Linked DNA regions of Homo sapiens: regions 1, 2, 3, 4, 5 and 6 are each linked to region 7. The links are contacts of gene promoters, found by promoter capture Hi-C in blood cells and fetal thymus (Javierre and others, 2016). All regions are on one chromosome and are shown on one strand. Each heading gives the region's core, a stretch centred on a gene start or on the middle of the fragment in contact. The rest is flanking DNA. Distances are from core to core; before and after follow the strand shown. Region 1 overlaps TOGARAM1 (TOG array regulator of axonemal microtubules 1). Region 2 overlaps TOGARAM1 (TOG array regulator of axonemal microtubules 1). Region 3 overlaps PRPF39 (pre-mRNA processing factor 39). Region 4 holds the start of PRPF39 (pre-mRNA processing factor 39). Region 5 has its middle 19 kb from the start of DORIP1. Region 6 overlaps KLHL28 (kelch like family member 28). Region 7 holds the start of SEC23A (SEC23 homolog A, COPII component).

Region 1 (3,165 bases), core at 263-2,762, 5.9 Mb before region 7:
TCACTCCAACCTCTGCCTCCTGGGTTCAAGTGATTTTCTTGCCTCAGCCTCCTGGGTAGCTGGGATTACAGGTGCATGCCACCATGCCCAACTAATTTTTGTATTTTTACTAGAGACAAGGTTTCACTATGTTGGCCAGGCTGGTCTCAAACTCCTGACCTCAAGTGATCTGCTCCGCTTCCCTCACCCACACTGACCTCTCAAAGTGGTGCAATTACAAGTGTAAGCCACCCGCCCGGCCTGCCACTATTACATTTAAAAAATCATCCTTCCAAACAAACTGGTCTATTTATCTCCAAAATGAGCTACAGGAGTATGTAATTGAAATATTCATGATTTTTTTTCTGGAAATTTTGTATTTAATGTCACTAACCAATCCTACATGTGGACAAGATAGAAATAACAGATTAACAGTGGACTGTAAATGTTAAAGCAGAGAGCCTGGCCAAGAGCCAGTACAAATCAGGCCAGGAGCCAGACCTGTAACTGAGTATGGAGGACACATGAATATGTGACATACATAAAAGGAAGTACTGAGACCTGCTATGTGGAGTCTTAAGACTACAGAGGAGGCCAGCTTCAGCTACTAAATAAGGTTATCCATAGTCTAGATTTTTTTTTCAATATTATAACACTAATATACTTTGCTCTGAGGCTCAGTGGTTCATTAGGAGCTGAGGATTCCAAAGGAATCACATACTAAGCACACTCTTGTATCATGCCTTATGCCATCTCTTCAAGCCATCTCCCTTGCCAGGAATGCATTTTACCTTCCTGACCATTTGAAGCCTTAGCTCCTGTCAAGAAGCAGGTCACATTCACCTTTTTCAGGAACTCTCTGCTAATTTCCCAAGGTGCTCAAATGAAAAAATCTGTACAGAGAAAAGAGGTTAGTTATAGATCATTTGATAGTGAAATGGTTAAGGCACCAACTCTGGAGTCATTTTGCCTACATTCAAATCAGCTCTGCCACTCACTAGCTAAGAGACCTTAAGGAAGTTATTTAACCTTTGTGTATAGAATAATGCCTGGCATAGAGTAAGTGCTATTTAAGAGTTAGCTGCTGCAATAGTCTGAATAAGTGTCCCCTTAAAAATCATGTTGAAATCTAATCCCCAACGTGATGGTAGTAAGAGGTAGGGCCTTTGGGAGGTGATTAGGTCATGAGGGCTCCACCCTCAAGTATGGGATTAGTGCCCTTATAAAACAGGCCTGTGGGAGCTTGTTTGTCCCTTCCACCCCATAAGGACACAGCAAGAAGGTGCTGTCTATGAAGCAGAGAGCCTTAACTGGACGCTGAATTTGCCAATGCCTTGATCTTGGATTTCCCAGTCCCCAGAACTGGGAGCAATAAATGTCTATTGTTTATAAATTACCCAGTCTAAGACATTTTGTTACAGCAGCAGGAAGAAGAATAGCTGCCTTTGAAAACAGTATTATTATTATTATTATTAATGGTGACTTATAGGTAAGCAAATTAGGGATACAAAATTTATGTCAAGTCCACAATCACAAAGCTAAACTGGTACTAGAATCCAGTATTTTGACTCCTAATTGTTATATCAAAATTCATCTTACTCTAACCTTTTTTTTTTATCTGTTATTTCTATTTTGTCCACATGTAGGATTGGTTAGTGACATTAAAAAAAAAAAGAGAGAGAGATGGGATCTTGCAATGTTGACTAGTCTGGCCTTGAACTCCTGAGCTCAAATGATCCTCCTGTCTCAGCCTCCTGAGGAGCTGAGACTACAGGCCTATAGGTATATGCCACCATGCCTGGCTCTTGATCTTCTTCTTCTTTTTTTTTTCTCTTTTTTTTAATTTTTGAGACAAGGTCTCACTTTGTCTCCCAGGCTAGTGTGCAGTGACACTATGATCTCAGCTTATTACAGCCTCGACCTCCCAGGCTCAAGTGATCCTCCACCTGAGTCTCCCAAGTAGCTGGGACTATAGACATGTGCCACCATGCCTGGCTAATTTTTGTATTTTTTTAGAGTCCTACCATATTGTCCAGGCTGCTCTCAAACTCCTGGGCTCAAGCAATCCTTCTGCCTTGGCCTCCCAAAGTGTTGGGATTACAGGCATGTGCCACTGCTCCTGGTTTTGATCTTCTTTTAGTAACTACTGCTTCTATCAGTAATTTGATGTTTAAATCTCTAATTTGCTATATTATCTTTTAATCTTCACATTTTTGTCTAAGTAAATTAGAAACATTTAGGCACAAAAATCTCATTTTTATATATATGTCATACATGTATGGTTAGTATTCACTGAAAAAGACTAAATGATAATATCAGCTAAACATTTTTTTTTCTTTTTCCAAACAGCCAACTGTCCTTTGTAATCTGCTCCACCTTTTTTGGAGGGCACAGTGGAATTTGGGAGGAGAGGAGAAAACTAACTATACCTCGTATTTTGCTCCAATGAGGTAACTTAACTCTTCATGATTCTCAAACTACTTTTATCAGTGCCCTCTTTTCCAGAAAGCATATGCCCATACACATATCTTTAAAAACTTATAACGATTTTGTGAATGTTGCCATTACAGTTTTCAAGCACACAAATCACCAATTATCCTCAAAATCTCATGTTAGCAATTATAAAAACGGAAACCATTTTTATTTCCCTTAAATCAGCTCACGTGGTGCTGCCCAGTTCTTTTCAAAAAGAAGGCTAGGCCAGGCACAGTGGCTCATGCCTGTAATCCCAGCACTTTCAGAGGCAGTGGAGGGAGGATTGCTTGAGCTCAGGAGTTCGAGACCAGCCTGGCCAACATGGTGAAACCCTGTCTCTACTAAAAAATACAAAAAAAATTAGCTGGGCATGGTGGCACACGCCTGTAGTCCCAGCTACTTGGGAGGCTGAGGCAGGAGAATCGCTTGACCCTGGGAGGTGGAAGTTGCAGTGAGCTGCAAGTGCAGCTCATACGACTGCACTCCAGCCTGGGTGACAGAGTGAGACTCTGTTTCAAAAAAAGAAGTCTAAAGCATGTCATACATTTAACACCTTTAAGGCCAACATATTTAAAATTTCTCTGTGTGGGGTCTCATAGGAAGAGCTATGAATTTTTCTATTTAAAAAGTCAGTCTTGGCCGGGTGCTGTGGCTCACGCCTGTAATCCCAGCACTTTGGGTGGCCAAGGCGGGCAGATCATGAGGTCAGGA
Region 2 (2,875 bases), core at 103-2,602, 6.0 Mb before region 7:
ACACTAGAAGTAGACTTGTAAGTTTTACTGTGGAGATTTAACCTAGTTTCAGTTTAGGTTTATTATGAAAATTTTAGATGCAATTTCAGAGTTAAATTTGTATTATTATCTCTTAACCTGAAAACTTTTAACAATAATTCCTTGCTCTTCAGAATCCTTAACTTTCATAAACTCAAGATATAATAAAGTGAATGCTAAACAATCCTTTAGTCATGTCAGGTGAGTGAAGAGCTACTCTATGAGCTGAGACTATTCACTAATAATTTCTAATACTTATTTATTATTTTTCATGTTAAGAATAATCTTCCCAAGAGATTTATTTTTACTCAATAGATATCAGAAAATATAACTTTCTGGCTCCCATGACATGGTAATATGGTTCTTTTCTTCAGAAAACTGAGACAATACCATGAGAAGTAAAGAGTACTTATGGTATGTTTGCCAAGTATAATGCACATTACACAAATTTAAAATGAAATTTAATTAATAAATTATTAATAGAATTAACTGAACTAAATTCTGATCAAGCAAAAATAATCTATGCTCTGACATGATGAATATTTATTAATATTTCCCTTTCTTTTGCTTATTGTCTTCCTAAAGATAGGTACACAGGAGTCAGTATATAGAGATTTCTAACCCACATATGGAAAGTTTTATTATCTGTTCTAAAGCAATATCAAGTCTCTTATCTGTCTTTGCTTTTTAAAAATATGTATTGATTAATTCAACATATATTTACTAGATGCCAGGTTCTGAGAGCTCTGAGAATATAGCAGTTTCAAGGAGCTTACCATCTTGTGGCAGGATTCAGACTAATAAATAGCTATCCTCTTACTTTGTTTCAGTGACTTTGAGTTGTTCTAGTATGCTTTTAACCTAGAAAAACCTAGAAAATCCATTCTTTTCACTAAGCTTATTTTCACACTTGAGAATTATATATCTATATATGATATGTATATAAGTAATTTATTAGTTACATTCCATTTTAAATTTGTGTAATTTGTATATAGATATAGAGAGAAGGTATATAAAACACTAAGATTTAGGGCAATGTTTTAAACTGATAAACTTCATTTGACATAGATTTCAAATGAAAATAAATTTTTATTTTCTTTTTTGTAGAGACAGGGTCTTGCTATGTTGCCCAGGTTGGGCTTGAACTTTGAACTCCTAGCCTCAAGAGATCCTTCTACCTTGGCTTCCCAAAGTGCTTGGATTACAGGCGTGAGCCACCATACCCACATTAAAATTAATTCTGACAAGTCCTTACCTTCACAATGTTTCCAACAACAAGGTCTTGATTATTTTCTGTATCTGATAAAAGCTGCTTAATCCCATTAATACGATCACGAAAGTCTTTTGCATTTAATAAGCCAGTTATGAGTTTAAGGTACTCAGCACTTTCTAAGGAATTACGAGGGACTGATTTTCTGGTGACTTCACGAACTTCAGTTACAGCTCTAAAGTGAAAGAAAGGTGAAGGTAATTTCATTTGTACTTTCCTATAAAAACTATTATACAAACATAATTTAAAAATCTCATTATGCATTCATTTTCCAAAATGCATAAAATGCAAAAAACTGTGGCTAACCCATAGCCACAGTATCTCTCCTGGGGGTCCCCAGGATCTCCCCTGGATTTGGATATTTGCTAGGAAGACTCGTAAGAGTTAGCCTATACTTTTACTCATGGCTAAAATTTATTACAGCAGAAGGATACCAAACAAAATCAGCTGAGGGAACAGGTGCACAAGTCAAAGACCAGAGGAAACCAGATCTAAGCTTTTAAGAGTCCTTTCCCAGTAGAGTCGCACAGAACACAATTCCTTCAGCAATGAGTTATGACAACATATGTGAAATGTTGTCTACTAAGTAAGCTTATTAGAGGCCTCATGTCTAGAGTTTTCACTGGGAGCTGGTAATGTAGGGACTGTCTGCCTAGGACATACCAAAATTCCAGACTCCCAGAAGGAAACCAGGCCTCCAGCATAAACCATATTGTTTGCCCAAACAATTTAGGCGCAGTAAACTATCTTATCAGTTAGGGCATAGTGGGAATCCTCTTGAAATCCTAGTTTCCCATGTCAGCGAAGAGCTAACCTTGCAAGCAGCCTTTTTTAGGGATAGCAGTCTCAGGACTGCAATGTTAACTTTTTTCTGAACAGCTTCCTTGCCCGTTGAGATCTAGATAAATTACCTTGAACCTCTTTCAAAAAACTCATCCTCCAGAGAAGATTAAGTGAACCACTCTTATGAGGAATAGTTGAAATCTTTCCAAAACCTAAGTTCCCAGATGTCAACCAATGGGCAATCTCTCTAAGCAGGCCTTTCTAAGAATAGCAGTCTTGGGCCCTGTTATGTTAACTCTTTCCTGCAAAGTATCCGTGAGAACACTCATGGGACAATGAGAAACTAGAGACCAGCAGGAATTATTATGGCAATGACAGTATTCATAGCATAATATTTTTCGTGGCTATAAAGGGGTAACTCAATGTGGTAGATCCAGCTTGTCCATCCCATGGTCTGCAGGTCGCATGCAGCCCAGGACAGCTTTAAATGCAGCCTAACACAAATTCATAAATTTTCTTAAAACATTATGAGATTTTTGTGTATATGTGAATGTTTTTTCTTTTGTTTTTTTGTTTTTAGCTCATCAGCCATCATTAGTGTTGGTGTATTTTATGTGTGGCCAAGACAATTCTTCTGCAGTGTGGCAAGGGAAGCAAAAGATTGGACACCCCTGTTTAGATGATCATCCTTTTGAAACTAAAGAGTCATGCAAAGTGACAGGTAGGTTGGTTGGTCAATCTGTCTATCTATTTTAGATGCAGAGTCTCACTCTATCTTTCTATCTATTTTATTTTTTTAATTTT
Region 3 (3,129 bases), core at 623-3,122, 6.0 Mb before region 7:
TCATGGAGTCAAGGGATAACAGGTCCAGTTTCTTCTGCACTAAAGACCTTTTTTTCCCCCCGAGATGGAGTCTTGCTCTTTGGCCCAGGCTGGAGTGCAGTGGTGCCATCTTAGCTCACTGCAACCTCCGCCTTCCAGGTTCAAGCAATCTTCCCACCTCAGCCTCCCAAGTAGATGGGACTACAGTCATGTGCCACCACACCTGGCTAATTTTTGTATGTTTAGTATAGACAGGGTTTCACCATGTTGCCTACATGGGTCTCAAACTCCGGACCTCAGGTGACCCGCCTACCTTGGCCTCCCAAAGTGCTGCGATTACAGGCATAAGCCACCATACCTGGCCACTGACGAACTTTAGAATAAGACTGGTTACCTTTGCAGGATCGGTTATGTCTTCAATTCCCGATGGTAGATCATCACCAGGAGGACCATCATCACCACTATGACCATTTACAGAAGCTAATTCCCTTCGCAACTGAATAAACTGTTCACCAGTTAAAAGATCTCTAGGCAAATTATTCTGTACATGTTCTTTAAATCTAAAGGAAGACAATAAAAATATATGTATTTGAATCATAATTTTAGATCTCATATTGAGATTCCTACTATATACTACTCTTTCAAAGGATTTGATTTAAAAAAGAAACCAAAATATCATACCTTTTCTCCTTCTTTTCTATAGTAAAATCCTACCATATATGATAAAACACTACCATATGATAAAACAGTCTATAGACATCTTCAATTTCTTCCTACCTTTACAGTGGAATGGAGAAGGCATGGACGGGCATAAATTCAAACCTCAGTTCTGTCTGTTACTGGTTATCTGACTAGGGAAGGTTTTCTTTTCTCTAAATCTTAGTTTCCTCAATTGTAAAATAAGATGATAATACCTATTCGTGTGTCATAGAATCTATTTTACTACAAAGACATAAAAGTTACAGTAAAATTAAATACTGTAATCCATATTTAAATTCTAAATGATCACTTGTAAATAACCAACAAATATAGCATTTCCTTCCCACCTCCCAAATACTCCTCATCCACATGTGAGTACGCAAAAATCCAATGAAACTGCCCAATTAAGATTATCAATTACCTCATATATAAAATTAAATGGACACTTGTTTTGTAGTATGGTCCTCCAAGCCTCTGACTGCTGCTCTATGTCTTATTCCCCTTCTTACCTGCCCTAAATGCTACTATACCCAAGTATTCCACTCTCCATTTGGTTCTCATCTATTTTTATTAATACATACTTCTGGCCAATCTCATTCATACAGCTTGAAATAAGTATACCATGATGACTCTCAAAACTACAACACAAGTCCAAACCTTTCTCCTAATCACATTAGCATATACAACTGCCAATACTCTGCACAAAGAAATGTGGATTAGTTTTAAGCTAATCTATAAAAAGATTTTTGAAAAAAATATCATTTCACTATTTTATAAAAACATGCAATAATTTGTATACATACAAATTGTAATCAAAAATACCAGGTTGAGGAGCTAAAATATCTACACTATCACAATTTGAATATACCTTTGGAACCTCAAATATGAAATATTTTAAAATAAGTATGGCATCTTCATCTGAAAATGAATACCCTCAGTATTTCTTTCTTTATTTTCTTGTGTGAGATGGAGTCCTGCTCTGTTGCCCAGGCTAGAGTGCAATCGTTCTATCTTGGCTCACTGCAAGCTCCACCTCCCGGGTTCAAGCAATTCTCCTGCCTCAGCCTCCCAAGTAGCTGGGATTACAGGTGCGCACCACCACGCCCAGCTAATTTTTCTAATTTTAGTAGAGACGGGGTTTCACCTTGTTGGCAGCCTGGTCTCGAACTCCTGACCTCAGGTGATCCACCCGCCTCAGCCTCCCAAAGTGCTGGGATTACAGGTGTGAGCCACCGTGCCCCGCCACCCTCAGCATTTCTAATATTGATTAATGGTACTGTCAACCACTACATCTCTCAATCTCTTCCACCTAGCTTTTCATTTACATTAGATACCAGGTCCTACTGACTGTACCTTTTAAATACATGTTCATCACCTCGGGACTTTTAAGCTGGATAAACATAAAATGACCTTGCAGCCTCTAGTCTCACAACTCCCATTCCCACCTCTATACTACTATCAGAAATGTTACTAAAAAGTAAGCAAACAGGTCAGGCGCCTGCTGACGCCTGTAATCCCAGCACTTTGGGAGGCTGAGGTGGGCGGATCACCTGAGGTCAGGAGTTTGAGACCAGCCTGGCAAACACGCTGAAACCCATCTGTACCAAAAATACAAAAATTAGCTCCGTGTCGGGGCGGGCACCTGTAATCCCAGCTACTCGGGAGGCTGAGGCAGGAGAATCACTTGAACCTGGGAGGTGGAGGCTGCAGTGAGCCAAGACTGCACCACTGCAATCCAGCCTGGGCAACAGAGCGAGATTTCACCTCAAAAAAAAAAAAAAAAAAAGTATATAAATAACATTGGAATCTAATTTAAATTTTGCAAAGTCAATGGATACAGAGGCTAACGGCCCATTTCAGCACCAGGTGGAAAAAAATTAACAAAGATTGCCTTATGTTAAAAAATTAAAAATAAGGAAGTAACTCTCAAATATGTAGTATGAAAAAACAGATTTAATTACAGATGAATATTAAAACTCAGAATGGTCAACAAATGAATTAAAAACTTAAGGTAAAATTTCAAAATAACTACATACAGTACATAAATCTAAAATGACTTATTGCTACATCATGTAACAACTTCTTTAAAACAGTGACAAAATGTGCATAATATTAAGCAGTATTTTTTCAGCAGTTTTTTGTATTATAAAGCTAACATTTATTCAGTAAAGACTGGCTGACTGCCTAATATATATTGAGCTCTATTCCTAAATATTAGAGATACAAAGAATTAAGCCTCAGAAACTGACAGGCATGTTGAGGATATAAGAGACATAAATTCAAAGCAGTGTTACTGGTGCTAATATAAATGTAAATAAATGTAGGTAAAGTCATGGCACAAATAACAGACTAGGTATCTCAGTATAGGAGAACCAGAGAAAATTTCACAGAGAAGACACAAAACTGTGTGGTCTCAGGGAATATAAGTCCACTAGACAAGTGGAAAGAGGA
Region 4 (3,091 bases), core at 530-3,029, 6.0 Mb before region 7:
CATTGACTATTCTTTTTCATAAACACAGCAATATATAAAAATCTGAAGTCATCACTAAAGACTGAAAGGAGTTTTGGGTAGAGCAAAACAAGTAGCTTTGCAATAAGCAAATCTCATCCACAAGGCAATCTGGAGATTTGGGATGTAAGAAGAAAAGAGACTATCATAACCACTGGTTTTGGCAGCTGTTTTTAAGGGCTAAGTAGTCACACGCCGACTTTTTAAAGTCTCTACATATTAAACACTGTGTTCCAGAAACTAGATTTTGTATATGTATTTACATAAACGTCTACATCAATCTTCGGCTTTTTGGAAAACGTACCATTTGGCTGGAACTACACTACCTTCTTCCTCCTTCGGCTATTTTTAATTTTTTTTGAAGTCCTATCTTCCATGTAGATTTGTTAAAACATACCACAGAAAACAGCACATACAATTTTTATCATTTGACTTTTAAACATCTTCTTTCTTATTCAATTATAAGCAAGGAAAAATATTCTGAGACTTTACACAAATAGTGTCTCATACCACCTATGAGCCATCTATGCTCAACCCCTACTTCAAAGTTCACAATCTAAGTACTAGTCCTCTTTAACAGAACTCCTTTCCATCACTTTATCCCTACTAGAGAGTGAACAGTGGAAAGTTCCAACTTTTGCAACTCTAGAATGAGGTTATAAATCTAGAGGGAGGAGGAAAACCTGACAGTAGACGCTTGTTCTTTTCACTCCATTCAAGCTCCCATACAGCCTAAAACACTTAAGTTTCAACATGAGCTTCATACGTCCCTGTCCAAAACTTGCTTTCTCAAGCCTCACGCTTTCCAGCTGTAGCAAAGTTTATTTCTGAACAGATTAAATCAGTTGCTAAATAATCTGAAGTCCTCAAACAGAAGGCCATATGAGTATCAAACGAAAAAAACAACATTTGAATCAGCATAAATTCACATGGTATTATGGCATCATTACTAATACACTGAGCAGTATTATTTATTAACTTCAAGTATTAATTAACTTAAAGATGTGATTTTGGAGAAAAACACCAGTGGTGGTCTCTGATTACCAAAGTTAAACATTCTTAAGCACAATCCCTTAAAAAATCCTGCCAGGATCAATGATGTGTTTTTTCTGTTTTAAAGTATCCTGCCAAAAGCTGTGGGTGCTGTGACTTAGGGTCGCAAAAGTGTTGCTTATGTAGTCAGAAGACAGAACGTGCCCTACAAGGCGCTCACATGCCTTAGTAATAGAACGTATATTATCTTCCCAATCCTCTGGCGGCTGCAAATGTGCTCCTTCCACTTCCAGCCACCCCAGCCGTGTTCCAGCTCCGGGAGAAGCAAGGGCTTTAGAATTACCCCCAAATATCTTCCTAAATCCAGGCGAAGGAGGCCCACACTTCTCCACCCTACCTAACGCACCCCTCAAGTGAAACGTTTGGTCTAAGAAAAAAATACCTTGCACCGCTCCACCCAACAGGTGGGAAGGAGAAAGGAATGGACAGCTGAGCGCTGAATCCGAGCCAGGCCTCAAACAGGGCGGGAGAGGGAGGCCGCGGCCAGAGCGCGGCCTGAAACCCGGCAGGCCCCTTTCAGTACCAAGTACCACCCTCTGCCCCAGCTAATTTCAAGGAGCCCGCCCCAGCAGACCTTATGATGGATGCCACTTGATGCCATGAGCCGGAGCCTGTGACGACCTAGCCGAAGATGGCACTTCACCGCCTCCGTCCCCACAGCCAGCACAGCAGCCGCCACCCGCGCCACGGCCGCCTGGTCCAGGGCACGATGCGCATGCGTCAGTGTCCCTGGAGGCGAAAAAGTCACGTGGGTTCGCAGCGCGCAGGCCTGGCCCTCCCAGGGATCCTCGCTGCCCGTGCGGCCCCAGCCCCGCCCCCGCAGCCCCGCCCCGCCCCGCCGCGAGCGAGGGCGGGGACCGCTGCGCCTACCTGCCTTTCCCTCCATAGGGACTTCCCAAAGGAAAGGAGGGCGTTTAGGGGCTTTCACACGCCTGATCTTAAACACAGCGCCCTGACCCCTCCCCACCAAAAACGGCAAAATGTCATTTTTGGGGGCAAATCTAAGGTTTTCCCTACAATTGTTCAAGCTTTCACACTAAAACATTTACCTAAAAACGGGCAGAAATTCAGCCTTAAACCCACAAATCTCACGATGGTATAGACCCTGGGCCCACTCAGGTTTCCTGAAAACTAAACAGTTCTGGAGTTAGGGGTTTGGAGAACGGGCTATTGTTAAAGAAAAAAGTATTTAGTGACACTTGTTAAAGCACAAAAAGAGGGCTTTATTCAGGACCATCGCAACAGGTATAGGGACCACTGACTGCAATGGAGACTTGCAGTAGGGAAAGAGATATTGGGCTCAACTCCTCATACAGCATGGGCAAGTGGAGATTTATAGCCAAGGAGCGGTGGTAAGTGAATGTATAATTACTAAGAGGAAACATCAGGGTAAGGGGGATTTTGGCTAAACCCACCTAATAGGATTTTTGCTGAAGACAGGCCAAGATAATGAGGCATCACCTGGGGGATGGTGGAGACTGAAGAACCTGATCAGATATTGAGGATGATCAGCTATCAAGGATGGGGGTTTATTGCTAATCTGACTTAGCAAAGTTCTTTGCTTAAACTGGATTTTACAAAGAAAGTGTACAGAAGAGCCTAGCAGAAGATTCAGAAACCTGACTAAAGTTGGCCAAGCAAAAAAAAAAATCTTTGTATCTGAAGGGATATGTTATCCTCTGGACAAATTGAGGGGGACTGTGCGTTAACAATCTTAGCAGTCCTCTTCAGTTGTACCACCATCTCCACTTTAATAAAAAAAAATTTTCTTTCAAATCTGGCCTCTCTCCCTTTAAGATTCTGTTACATTGGTGCCCCCGCATTCACCTGTCACTTACCATGTAATCTGTTGTTCCAGGTGCATTAGTATTACTACTGGGCTCCAAGTTCCTCATCTGAAATCTGTCTCCTCTGGAAATACTTATTTACAAGACGACGTTTCTTGTCACAACGCAGGTTAATCATAAATCCTCTCACCAGCACCTTTCGTTCGAAATACCAAATTCAGTCTTTTTTCCTA
Region 5 (3,188 bases), core at 83-2,582, 5.8 Mb before region 7:
AAAGTCATATATACACACACTATATGTGTATATATACATATGTACACACACTATATACGTATATACGCACATATATGGTGTATATACGTATATACACACACACAGTGCGTGTGTGCGTGTACACACACACAGTGCGTGTGTGCGTGTACACACACACAGTGCGTGTGTGTGTGTACACAGTGTATATATGTGTGTGTACATAGTGTATATATGTGTGTGTACACAGTGTATATATGTGTGTACACACAGTGTATATGTGTGTACACACACAGTGTATATATGTGAGTGTACACACAGTGTATATATGTACACACACAGTGTATATATGTGAGTGTACACACACATAGTGTATATATGTACACACACAGTGTATATATGTGAGTGTACACACACAGTGTATATATGTATGTGTACACACACATAGTGTATATATGTGTGTATACACACACATATATAGTGTATATATGTGTGTATATACACACACATATATAGTGTATTTATGTGTGTGTATATACACACACATATATAGTGCATATATGTGTGTGTATATACACACACATATATAGTGCGTATATGTGTGTGTATATACACACATATATAGTGCGTATATGTGTGTGTATACACACATATATAGTGCGTATATGTGTGTGTATACACACATATATAGTGCGTATATGTGTGTGTATACACATATATAGTGTGTATATGTGTGTGTATATACACACATATATAGTGTGTATATGTGTGTATACACACATATATAGTGTGTATATGTGTGTATACACACACATATATAGTGTGTATATGTGTGAATACACACATATATAGTGTGTATATGTGTGTGTATACACACATATATAGTGTGTATATGTGTGTGTATACACACATATATAGTGTGTATATGTGTGTGTGTATACACACATATATAGTGTGTATGTGTGTGTGTGTACACACATATATAGTGTGTATGTGTGTGTGTGTACACACATATATAGTGTGTATATGTGTGTGTGTGTACACACATATATAGTGTGTATATGTGTGTGTGTGTACACACATATATAGTGTGTATATGTGTGTGTGTGTACACACATATATAGTGTGTATATGTGTGTGTGTGTACACACATATATAGTGTGTATATGTGTGTGTGTGTACACACATATATAGTGTGTATATGTGTGTGTGTACACACATATATAGTGTGTATGTGTGTGTGTGTGTACACACATATATAGTGTGTATGTGTGTGTGTGTGTACACACATATATAGTGTGTGTGTGTGTGTGTACACACATATATAGTGTGTATATGTGTGTGTATATACACACATATATAGTGTGTATATGTGTGTGTATATACACACATATATAGTGTGTATATGTGTATGTATACATGGTGGTATCTTAGTTCATTTGGACTGCTGTAACAAAATACCATAAACTGAGTAGCTTATAAGCAACAGAAATTATTTCCCACAGTTCTGGAGGCTGGGAAGTCCAAGATAAAGGCAGATTTGGTTTCTGGTAAGAACACTTTTTTTCTGGTTCATAGGCGTAATCTTGCTATGCCTTCACATGGTAGTAGGAGTGTGGCATCTCTCTTGGGTCTTTTTTCTAAGGGCACTAATCCCATCCAGGAGGGCTCCACTGTCATGACCTAATTGCCTTGCCCCACCTCCTAATGCCATCATTTTGGGGATGAGAGTTTCAACATATGAATTGTGGGCAGACATAAACACTGAAGACTATGGTAGGGGGATAAACAATTTTGGATAGTATCTGGTGGTTAAATGGTTAAAGATTTTGAACAGGAACAATATGGGATATTTTACCATTTGATGTCTAGGAAACTTTATTCACTTTCTCTTCAAATTTTTGCTTTGCTTTGTTCTTGCATTTTAAACTAATTCATGTATTTAACTTTTTAAAACTATTTTTACATTGTAATTTGTTCTGTGATCTTCATTTCCACAGAAATACCAGCAATGGTTTTCAGCCAACAAACTTGAAATATTTGCATAGAATTTAATTTTCTGCAACAACACTACACACTAATTTGCTGTAATTTCTTAATAAAATATTGAAAGAGGAATCCATAATGGTAATGTTACTGGGTGGGAAGTTCTTAACTGTGAATTGTCCAGGTTCTTGGCGTGTTGAACAAAGAATTGAACAAAATACACAAAGTAACAAAAGAAAGAAACAACAAAAGACAAAGCAACAAAAGAATAGAGTAATGAAAACACAGATTCATTGTAGTGAAAGTACATTCCACAGACTGGGAATGGGCTTCAAGAGGCAGCTCAAGAGTCCCGCTACTGAAATGCTCCCCAAGGTTTTTATAAAGCCAAAAGAACATGGGCAACACCCCTACATAACATTTGGAGGCCTCCAGTTGGTTACACCCTATGAAGGATTGGCCTACGACCAACCAGAGGCTGAAGTGGAGGCTTGCCCTGCAGTCAATCACAGATTGAAGCGGAAACTTCTGTCTTGTTATCACAGGAGCCAAGATGTAGCCTGTATGCTGCCTAATCTTGCCTAGAACTATCTGCGCCTGCTGTTCTTTTGCTTATGCATTAACCCTTGGTTACCCTAATTCCCTATTCTCCTGCCTCAGCAGCTAGCACTTTCATAGTGCTTACTATGTGTCAGGCAGTAAGTGCTATATATAGTAATTCATTTAATCCTCACTACAACCTTATGAGATATATTCTAGTATTATCTCCACTTTACAGTGAGGAAACAAATAGGTTAAGTCACATGCCCAAAGCTACACAGCCCATGACTGAGCCTGGATTTGAATCCAGGCAATCTAACTTCAAAATCCGGATTTAACTGCCATATTCTTGCCTTTCCTCGACAGCCTGAAAACACAATCAATCAAGAACTAATGATAAAAGAGATAATTCATTGATCATATAGCATGATTCACTTAGTCTGCAAATCCAGTCTTTTTCCTGGGTGAAAAAGGACAATCCTAAATTAGGTCTTCTGGCATTTTATAAGCTTGCTGAGGATAAAATTCCTAAGCCTTCTCAAAAAGAGAGCTGAAGGAAGAGGGGGAAATTTCAGAAGCCATGAGGGTTGGGAGGAAATAGGTGAAGAAACCCCAGGGGTCAGTTTACAAATAATATTTTAGCGGGAATGTTGGCAGAGAGCACAGCCAACTTTATCAAACGCATC
Region 6 (3,273 bases), core at 629-3,128, 5.9 Mb before region 7:
ACACCATCTATATCCCCTTCCACAACCTCATCCCCTATTATTTTGCAGCAAATCCTAACAACATATTATTTCATCTACAAATATTTCAATACAGCTGGTCATGGGGGCTCACACCTGTAATCGCAGCTCTTTGGGAGGCCAAGGCAGGAGGATTGCTTGAGGCCAAAAGTTCAAGACCAGCCTGGACAAATAGTGAGATCCCATCTCTACAAAAAATAAAAATAAAAAATATTAGCCAGGCATGGTAGCATGCGCCTGTAGTTCTAGCTACTTGGGAGGCTGAGGAGGGAGAATCCCTTGAGCCCAGGAATTCAAGGTTACAGTGAGCTATAATTGCACCATTGCACACCAATTTCAGCATATATCTGTAAAAGAAAAAAGCTCTTAAAAACACAACCACAATACCACTATTTAGCAACAAAAAATAGCAGTGATTAATTAATATATTAATAATCCAGTCAGTGTGTAAATTTCCAACTGTTTTCTAAATATGTGGGTGCACACACAAGTCTATGGTTCACAGGTTGTATTTGATTGATACGTCTTTTAAATTTATAGATTCATTCTCTTTATTTCTTGCAGTTTATTTGTTGAAGAATTTAGTTTATTTTACAAGATTTTTCACAGTCGGTATGTTTTTGCTAATTGCATCTTTCTGGTATTGTTTAACATGATTTTTCTATTTTCTATATTTTATGTAAATTAATAGTTGGAACTAGAGAATTGGCTGTAGTTTAATTTGCTTGACTTTGGTGTGTGTTGGGGTTGGGACGTGAGAATACTCATGGGTGTTATGTTTTTCCATCAGAAGGCCCAATTATCTAGCTATCTCTCTTTTTGTGATATAAACAGCCCTTCACAATCAATGCCCATTATTTATTAAGGATGCAAAATGATAATATTCCATTATTCCTTCTTTATTTATTAACAGGGATACTTTTAAAAAGAGAAATTTGGCCAGGTGTAGTGGCTCATGTCTGTAACCCCAGTACTTTGGGAGGCCAAGGTGGGAGGATCGCTTAAGACCAGGAGATTGAGACTAGTTTCGGCAAGGTAGCAAGACCCTATCTCTTAAAAAACAAAAACAAAAAAACTCATCTATTTGGAAACCCAGTAGTACAGTTAGTGTAGGAAAGGCATAATAAATGTTTGATTATTTCTCTTTGTTTACTAGGTTTCAAAAAATGAGTTGCTACATTAGCATCGTCCGGTGTTGACCATTAGGACTTTTTTTAAGTATCATTATTAACTCATGCATTTAAAATATCTGATATCGTTTAATCAATTGCAGTTATTATTATTGATGATCAGTTTGTCCTGTCTTTGACTAGTGAAAGCCTATTTAGTTTGGCCCCTGAATATTTTTTATATGACTCTTGTAGTATTTGATAGCTTTCTTGCTACCTAGGATGTATTTATTTATTTATTTTGAGGCAGGGCCTCACTCTGTCTCCCAGGCTGGAGTGCAGTTGTGCAATCACTGCACACTGCAGCCTCGACCTCCTGGGCACAAGCAATTCTCCTAGCTCAGCCCCCCAAGTAGCTGAGACTACAGGCATGTGCCACCACATCCAGCTAATTTTTTTATTTGTTTTTTTTCTTTGTAGAGACGGAATTTCACCGTGTTGCCCAGGCTGGTCTCAAACTCCTGGGCTCAAGCTATCCTCCCACCTTAGCCTCCCAAAGTGCTGGGATTATACTACCTAGGATTTAGATTCCAAATGTGTCTTGACATCTTCTGCCCCAGACATGGTATCAGCTATCTGCCCAAGGAGTTCTGTTCTCTTTGAGGGAAATGGTATTTAGAGAGTACATCTGAATGCTAGAAGTGTTCTTTGCTACCGGGATGGTCAGTTTCTAGACCTTTTCAGTAGACAGAGCTAGGAAATATAATTTATTTTTTTCCTTAAAATAATATTACGTATATTTAATATGTATGTATAGCTCACATGTATTTTATGTATTATATATAAATTATGTATTAGTATATATGAATATTTACTGTTATTTATATACATATATTTATTCTCATACTTTTTATTCAAATACAGACTGTGAGGTTCATAATTAACATCTTAGTGTTATGTCGTTACCTTCTTTTTCCCATACCAAGAATCCTAGATCACAGTGACCCTAGGGTTGATAGAATATCATATCATTACTCATTTGCTTTATAGCACAATACACACATTAACAGTGTCACAATACAAATAAACAGTGTCCTTATCAACAATGCGATTACTGAAAACAGCATAAGATATATATTTTAGGGCATGTCGCAATAGAGACTTCAGATTACTGTTTTAAAGTTATTTGGAATGGTATGGTAAGGCCACTAAGTTGATATTTTCTTCCTTTGTATTTTCAATTTTCAAATTTCTTATGGATCATGTTTTTAAGATTTAATTGTGCTTTATAATTACATAAAATACTTTTCTGATTCCACAGTCAAATCTATAAAACAGAGTATATTCAAAAATATCTACCTTCTATCTCTATCCTCTAGTTTTTAGTTCCATACCTCCTCTTGTAGGTAACCTTTAAAAGTATATATTGTGTAAAATTTCCTTTTTTTAATAGAAATGATTATGTATGTTTGTAATCTTCCCTATCGTAGATAAATGGTGACACACTAAACACACTTTGCTTAGATCAGGGAGATCACTGCAGAGTATTCTATACAGAGATTCCTCATTCCTTTTCATCGCTGTATAGTACTGCATTGTGTGGATGCTCTATAGTTTTCACAACCATTCTTTTGTTGCTGGACATGAGAGTTGTTTTAAAAATCTTGGTCAGTTGCCTTTTGGTCTCTCAAATATGAGGAATAAGAAACATGAGTATATTATTTTGTTTTTATAAATAGATCTGCAATTATTATTAGCCTTATGGATTTGTCTTTATACATTTTTGCCAGTGTAATTTTTGGATAGATTCTTAGAAGTAGGGTTTTTGGGTCAAAGGAAAAATCCAAATGTAATTTTGCTGTATTTTGACAGATTTACCTCCAGAGGTTTTGTATCATTTTCTATTCCCACAGCAATGAGTGAGATTTCCTGTTTCTCACATCCTCACCAACAGACTATACTGTCAAGAGAGAATTGTTAACTCCATGTATTAATTTATTTGATTTTAAGTGAAGTTGAGCAATTTTTGTATGGTTAAAATCATTTATGTTTTTAACAAACATCTGTTCATTTCTTTAACCAATTTTTCCTATAGGGCTAGAAAATTTTAGAAATATTTTATGTATTACTGATATATATTTTATAT
Region 7 (3,227 bases), core at 229-2,728:
TTTGGTGGGTGTACTTATTCCACCTTTATAACAACACCTCTGCTGTGTGCTGTTAAGAATCTTCATTAAGGTAGCACCTTGAACCTACTTTATTTGGAAGCCTACACTAATTTTTGGCTTTCGATTCCCATTGCCCTCTTCAGGATTGTATTACAATTTGACAAGCAAACATCCTCTTCCACCTTCCAAAACAACTTTAGTACACACATTATAGAAAGGGAAATATGTTTGGTGCTTTTTTTTTTGAGACAGTCTCACTCTGTCACCCAGGCTGGAGTGCAATGGCGTGGTCTCGGCTCACTGCAACCTCCGCCTCCCGGGTTCAAGCAATTCTTCTGCCTCATCCTCCCGAGTAGCTGGGACTACAGGAGCGTGCCACCACACCCGGCTAATTTTTGTATTTTTAGTAGAGACGGTGTTTCACTATGTTGGCCAGGCTGGTCTCGAACTCCTTACCTTGTGATCCGCCTGCCTCCGCCTCCCAAAGTGTTGGGATTACAGGCGTGAGCCACCGCGCCCAGCCTGGTGCTGCTGTCTTATTTCTCATGAATATGAGCTTTCAAGGACAGGGACTTGATCTTTTTTTCCATTCCATAAAATGTTGATATGGCTAAACTTTGCAGGCTTTTAGGCGTTGTCATATATGCAATTAATTCCATGGGCACTTAATTTCATTCCCCTCACTGAAGGAAGGGGTTGTCTGAGACCACCAAGCTCTAATGTCTTACCAATCTGTTGCTTTCTCATTTTGTTCAACTTTTTTCTTGGAAAGAAAAACATTGAACATATCAAGATGAATCAGCCAAATATTGTACTGTGTGTGTGTTTTGGGGGTGGGGGGAGACAGAGTTGAAGTGGCAGAGGCAATGTAGGAGGAAAAGACAGGCTGACTAAAATACATAAATAGTACGTGAATTCTTTCGGGCCAGGGATCTGGGCCTACTTTGCCTGCATCATATTACCAGCATCTCAATTGTGTCTGGCACATAGTAAGTTTCAGTAAACATTTGTTGCACTAAGTGAAAGAATGAACTTTTCACTTTTTTCAGAGATGTGATTTGTGATTCTCGGAATCAACCAGGGTCCTAAGATGTCCTGGAGGCCGTCTCCATTTCTCTCGGTGAGCTAAGGTGTCCGAGTGGCACCAGTTCTCCACTCTTTCTGCGACCTGCAGGGAGTGGGATACGCTGTGGCTTTAGGGAGCTGGGAAAGGCGCTCTCTCCCGGTCCCGCTCTGCCCGGTCCCACGCCCCTCGGCCGTCCGGCTGCCTGGGTCTTCCGGGTTCTTCCGCCCCTCTGGCTCGGTCCCCGCTACCTCTCCTCCCTCCTCCCCTCTCGGTACCTTCGCCCGCCGCGCGCCTTTCTCAAATCCTCCGGTTATTAAGCAAGCTCAGGGGTCCGGTGGCCTGCCCTGGTAACTCTGCGCCCGCCCCTTCCTGCCCCCTTCCTGCCCTCACGCCCCGTCCCCTCCTCTTGACGTGGCAGAGGCGGCGCCAGCCATGTTGGCCGGGCGGAGGTCTTCGCTGAGGCCCGGGGCGGGGTGGCGCCACCCCTGATTGCGGTGCCACGGACTGCTCCTGCTGGGCGGAGAGGACAGATTTTGCAAAGCGGAGGCTGCGACGGGTCCTGCAGGGGGACAGTGAGGAAAGGGCCGCCTCGTCTCCGCTCCTGGGGGACCGCAGGTGCGCAGCGGGGAGCGGGGGCGGGCTGGCGGCGGCGGGCTGGGGGCTGGGATCCTGGGGTGGTCCCGGCTCTGCCCTCTCGGTGCCCCGGGGCCAGCGAGGTGTGCTGGAGGCTGAGGCCCGGTCCGGCGCGGGGAGCGTTGAGTGCTGAGCTTGCCACCCTCTCACCCACTTCGCTCTGCCGGGGCCGGGGGCCCGGCCTCCTCCAGCTCCCCTGGATTAGGTGGAAAGATGTGGAAAACGGTGGTTCGAGCATCTCGCCCAGCACCCACCCCCACCTCCTGGGCCACCCACCTCCACCCAAGTCCATCATCGCCTCTGGGCCCTTGGACTTACTGTTTCATTCCTTGCCAGATATGGAGTGTCCTAGACTTTGAACCCAATTGACTACGTCACCGTAATTCAGCCTTGGAAGTTAAAGGGGTTAAAGGGGAAAAGAGCTTGGTAAAGATAATGCCTTGGGTTTTGATTACAAAGAGTTCAGTTTTCCAGCAGGACCAGCCCTATCTCACTGGGCTTTCTTTCTACGGTAGGTAGTGTTTCCCGATTTGGTGGTAAAGGTACTGCCTGAGGAAGGTCATAGTAAATCTACATCAATCACTGAAGTGGGGATGTGGAATTCTCGTTTTCACTTGAACTCCCTCAACCTCTACCGTCCAAAGCCATGGATAACTAGCCAAATTAACTTGGTTTAAAAAGGTTTTAGATTTAAATATAAATGCATGTTGAGTTTTCCTTCTCTTTCTCCTCTGGTAGTGAATGAACATCATTTCAGAAGTCCAGCTATTTTTTTTTTTTCTGAGACGGAGTCTTGCTTTGTCGCCCAGGCTGGAGTGCAGTGGCGCAATCTCGGCTCACTGCAACCTCCGCCTCCCTGGTTCAAGCGATTCTCCTGCTTCAGCCTCCCGAGTAGCTGGGATTACAGGGGCGAGCTACTATGCCCGGCTAATTTTTGTATCTTTAGTAGAGACGGGGTTTCACCATGTTGGCCAGGCTGGTCTCGAACTCCTGACCTCAGGTGATCCGCCCGCCTCGGCCTCCCAAAGTGCTGGGATCACAGGCATGAGCCACTGCGCCCGGCCAGAGTCCAGCTATTTTTAATTGACTTACAGAATTTTAGAGTTAGATGGGACCTTGTGATTTTCTAGTCCAAGTCTCTTATTTTGCTGATGAGAAAAACAGGATTCAGAGAGGTTAATTGTCCAAGATCATAAGAAGACAATTCATTGAGGATTTTGGAAGTGAAAAGTAGGAGACAAATTTAATTGGCAACTAACAAATACATGTAATTGGAAGGAACTCAAATTTACTTGGCAAGTACATTTTCAATTAGATATGAATAAAAGGGCTTAAAATTAGAATATTGAAAAACTATCATAGGGAAAGTCTTTTTTGTTTTTTTTTTTTTTGAGACGGAGTCTCGCTCTGTCACCCAGGCTGGAGTGCAGTGGAACGATTTCGGCTCACTGCAACCTCCGCCTCCCAGGTACAAGCTAAGCTATTCTCCTGTCTCAGCCGCCTGAGTAGCTGGGACTACAGGCGACCG

Evidence for each region. Contacts are between HindIII fragments. The CHiCAGO score rates a contact against its expected background, and 5 or more counts as called.
Region 1: a contact is called between a fragment that was not itself captured here and the fragment with the promoter of SEC23A in region 7, in 1 of 17 cell types (total CD4 T cells). The highest score is 7.0, in total CD4 T cells.
Region 2: a contact is called between a fragment that was not itself captured here and the fragment with the promoter of SEC23A in region 7, in 3 of 17 cell types (activated CD4 T cells, total B cells and naive CD4 T cells). The highest score is 7.9, in activated CD4 T cells.
Region 3: a fragment that was not itself captured here is called in contact with the fragment with the promoter of SEC23A in region 7 in 4 of 17 cell types (naive CD8 T cells, non-activated CD4 T cells, total CD4 T cells and 1 more); the score reaches 11.8 in naive CD8 T cells.
Region 4: the fragment with the promoter of PRPF39 here is called in contact with the fragment with the promoter of SEC23A in region 7 in 11 of 17 cell types (non-activated CD4 T cells, total CD4 T cells, naive CD8 T cells and 8 more); the score reaches 29.1 in non-activated CD4 T cells.
Region 5: a fragment that was not itself captured here is called in contact with the fragment with the promoter of SEC23A in region 7 in 3 of 17 cell types (naive CD8 T cells, M0 macrophages and non-activated CD4 T cells); the score reaches 11.5 in naive CD8 T cells.
Region 6: a contact is called between a fragment that was not itself captured here and the fragment with the promoter of SEC23A in region 7, in 5 of 17 cell types (total B cells, total CD4 T cells, naive CD8 T cells and 2 more). The highest score is 16.2, in total B cells.

What each region holds. Positions count from the first base shown.
Region 1 is chr14:44,977,462-44,980,626 of GRCh38, reverse strand. All of the region lies in intron 1 of TOGARAM1 (TOG array regulator of axonemal microtubules 1), which reads right to left. Among named protein-coding and RNA genes, the nearest start is that of TOGARAM1, 17 kb to the right of the region's middle. The HindIII fragment of the contact is 5,411 bases long and covers 1-3,165 here.
Region 2 is chr14:45,065,166-45,068,040 of GRCh38, reverse strand. It overlaps TOGARAM1 (TOG array regulator of axonemal microtubules 1), which reads right to left. Exons shown (of 20, transcript NM_001308120.2): 17 at 1,274-1,463. Among named protein-coding and RNA genes, the nearest start is that of PRPF39-DT, 17 kb to the left of the region's middle. The HindIII fragment of the contact is 869 bases long and covers 918-1,786 here.
Region 3 is chr14:45,104,861-45,107,989 of GRCh38, reverse strand. PRPF39 (pre-mRNA processing factor 39) reads right to left here. Exons shown (of 14, transcript NM_017922.4): 6 at 374-539. Among named protein-coding and RNA genes, the nearest start is that of SNORD127, 4.4 kb to the left of the region's middle. The HindIII fragment of the contact is 6,663 bases long and covers 1-3,129 here.
Region 4 is chr14:45,082,804-45,085,894 of GRCh38, reverse strand. PRPF39 (pre-mRNA processing factor 39) reads right to left here and starts at 1,779. Exons shown (of 14, transcript NM_017922.4): 1 at 1,646-1,779. It overlaps PRPF39-DT (PRPF39 divergent transcript), which reads left to right and starts at 1,869. Exons shown (of 2, transcript NR_184211.1): 1 at 1,869-2,423; 2 at 2,508-2,847. RefSeq lists a silencer at 1,785-2,074. The HindIII fragment of the contact is 5,294 bases long and covers 1-2,101 here.
Region 5 is chr14:44,914,340-44,917,527 of GRCh38, reverse strand. No RefSeq gene overlaps it. Among named protein-coding and RNA genes, the nearest start is that of DORIP1, 19 kb to the right of the region's middle. The HindIII fragment of the contact is 3,362 bases long and covers 1-3,013 here.
Region 6 is chr14:44,953,943-44,957,215 of GRCh38, reverse strand. All of the region lies in intron 1 of KLHL28 (kelch like family member 28), which reads left to right. Among named protein-coding and RNA genes, the nearest start is that of KLHL28, 6.4 kb to the left of the region's middle. The HindIII fragment of the contact is 4,594 bases long and covers 1-3,273 here.
Region 7 is chr14:39,101,486-39,104,712 of GRCh38, reverse strand. SEC23A (SEC23 homolog A, COPII component) reads left to right here and starts at 1,478. Exons shown (of 20, transcript NM_006364.4): 1 at 1,478-1,681. It overlaps SEC23A-AS1 (SEC23A antisense RNA 1), which reads right to left and starts at 1,573. Exons shown (of 2, transcript NR_146545.1): 1 at 1,342-1,573; 2 at 901-1,168. RefSeq lists silencers at 1,263-1,492, 1,653-1,772, 1,793-1,872. The HindIII fragment of the contact is 19,881 bases long and covers 1-3,227 here.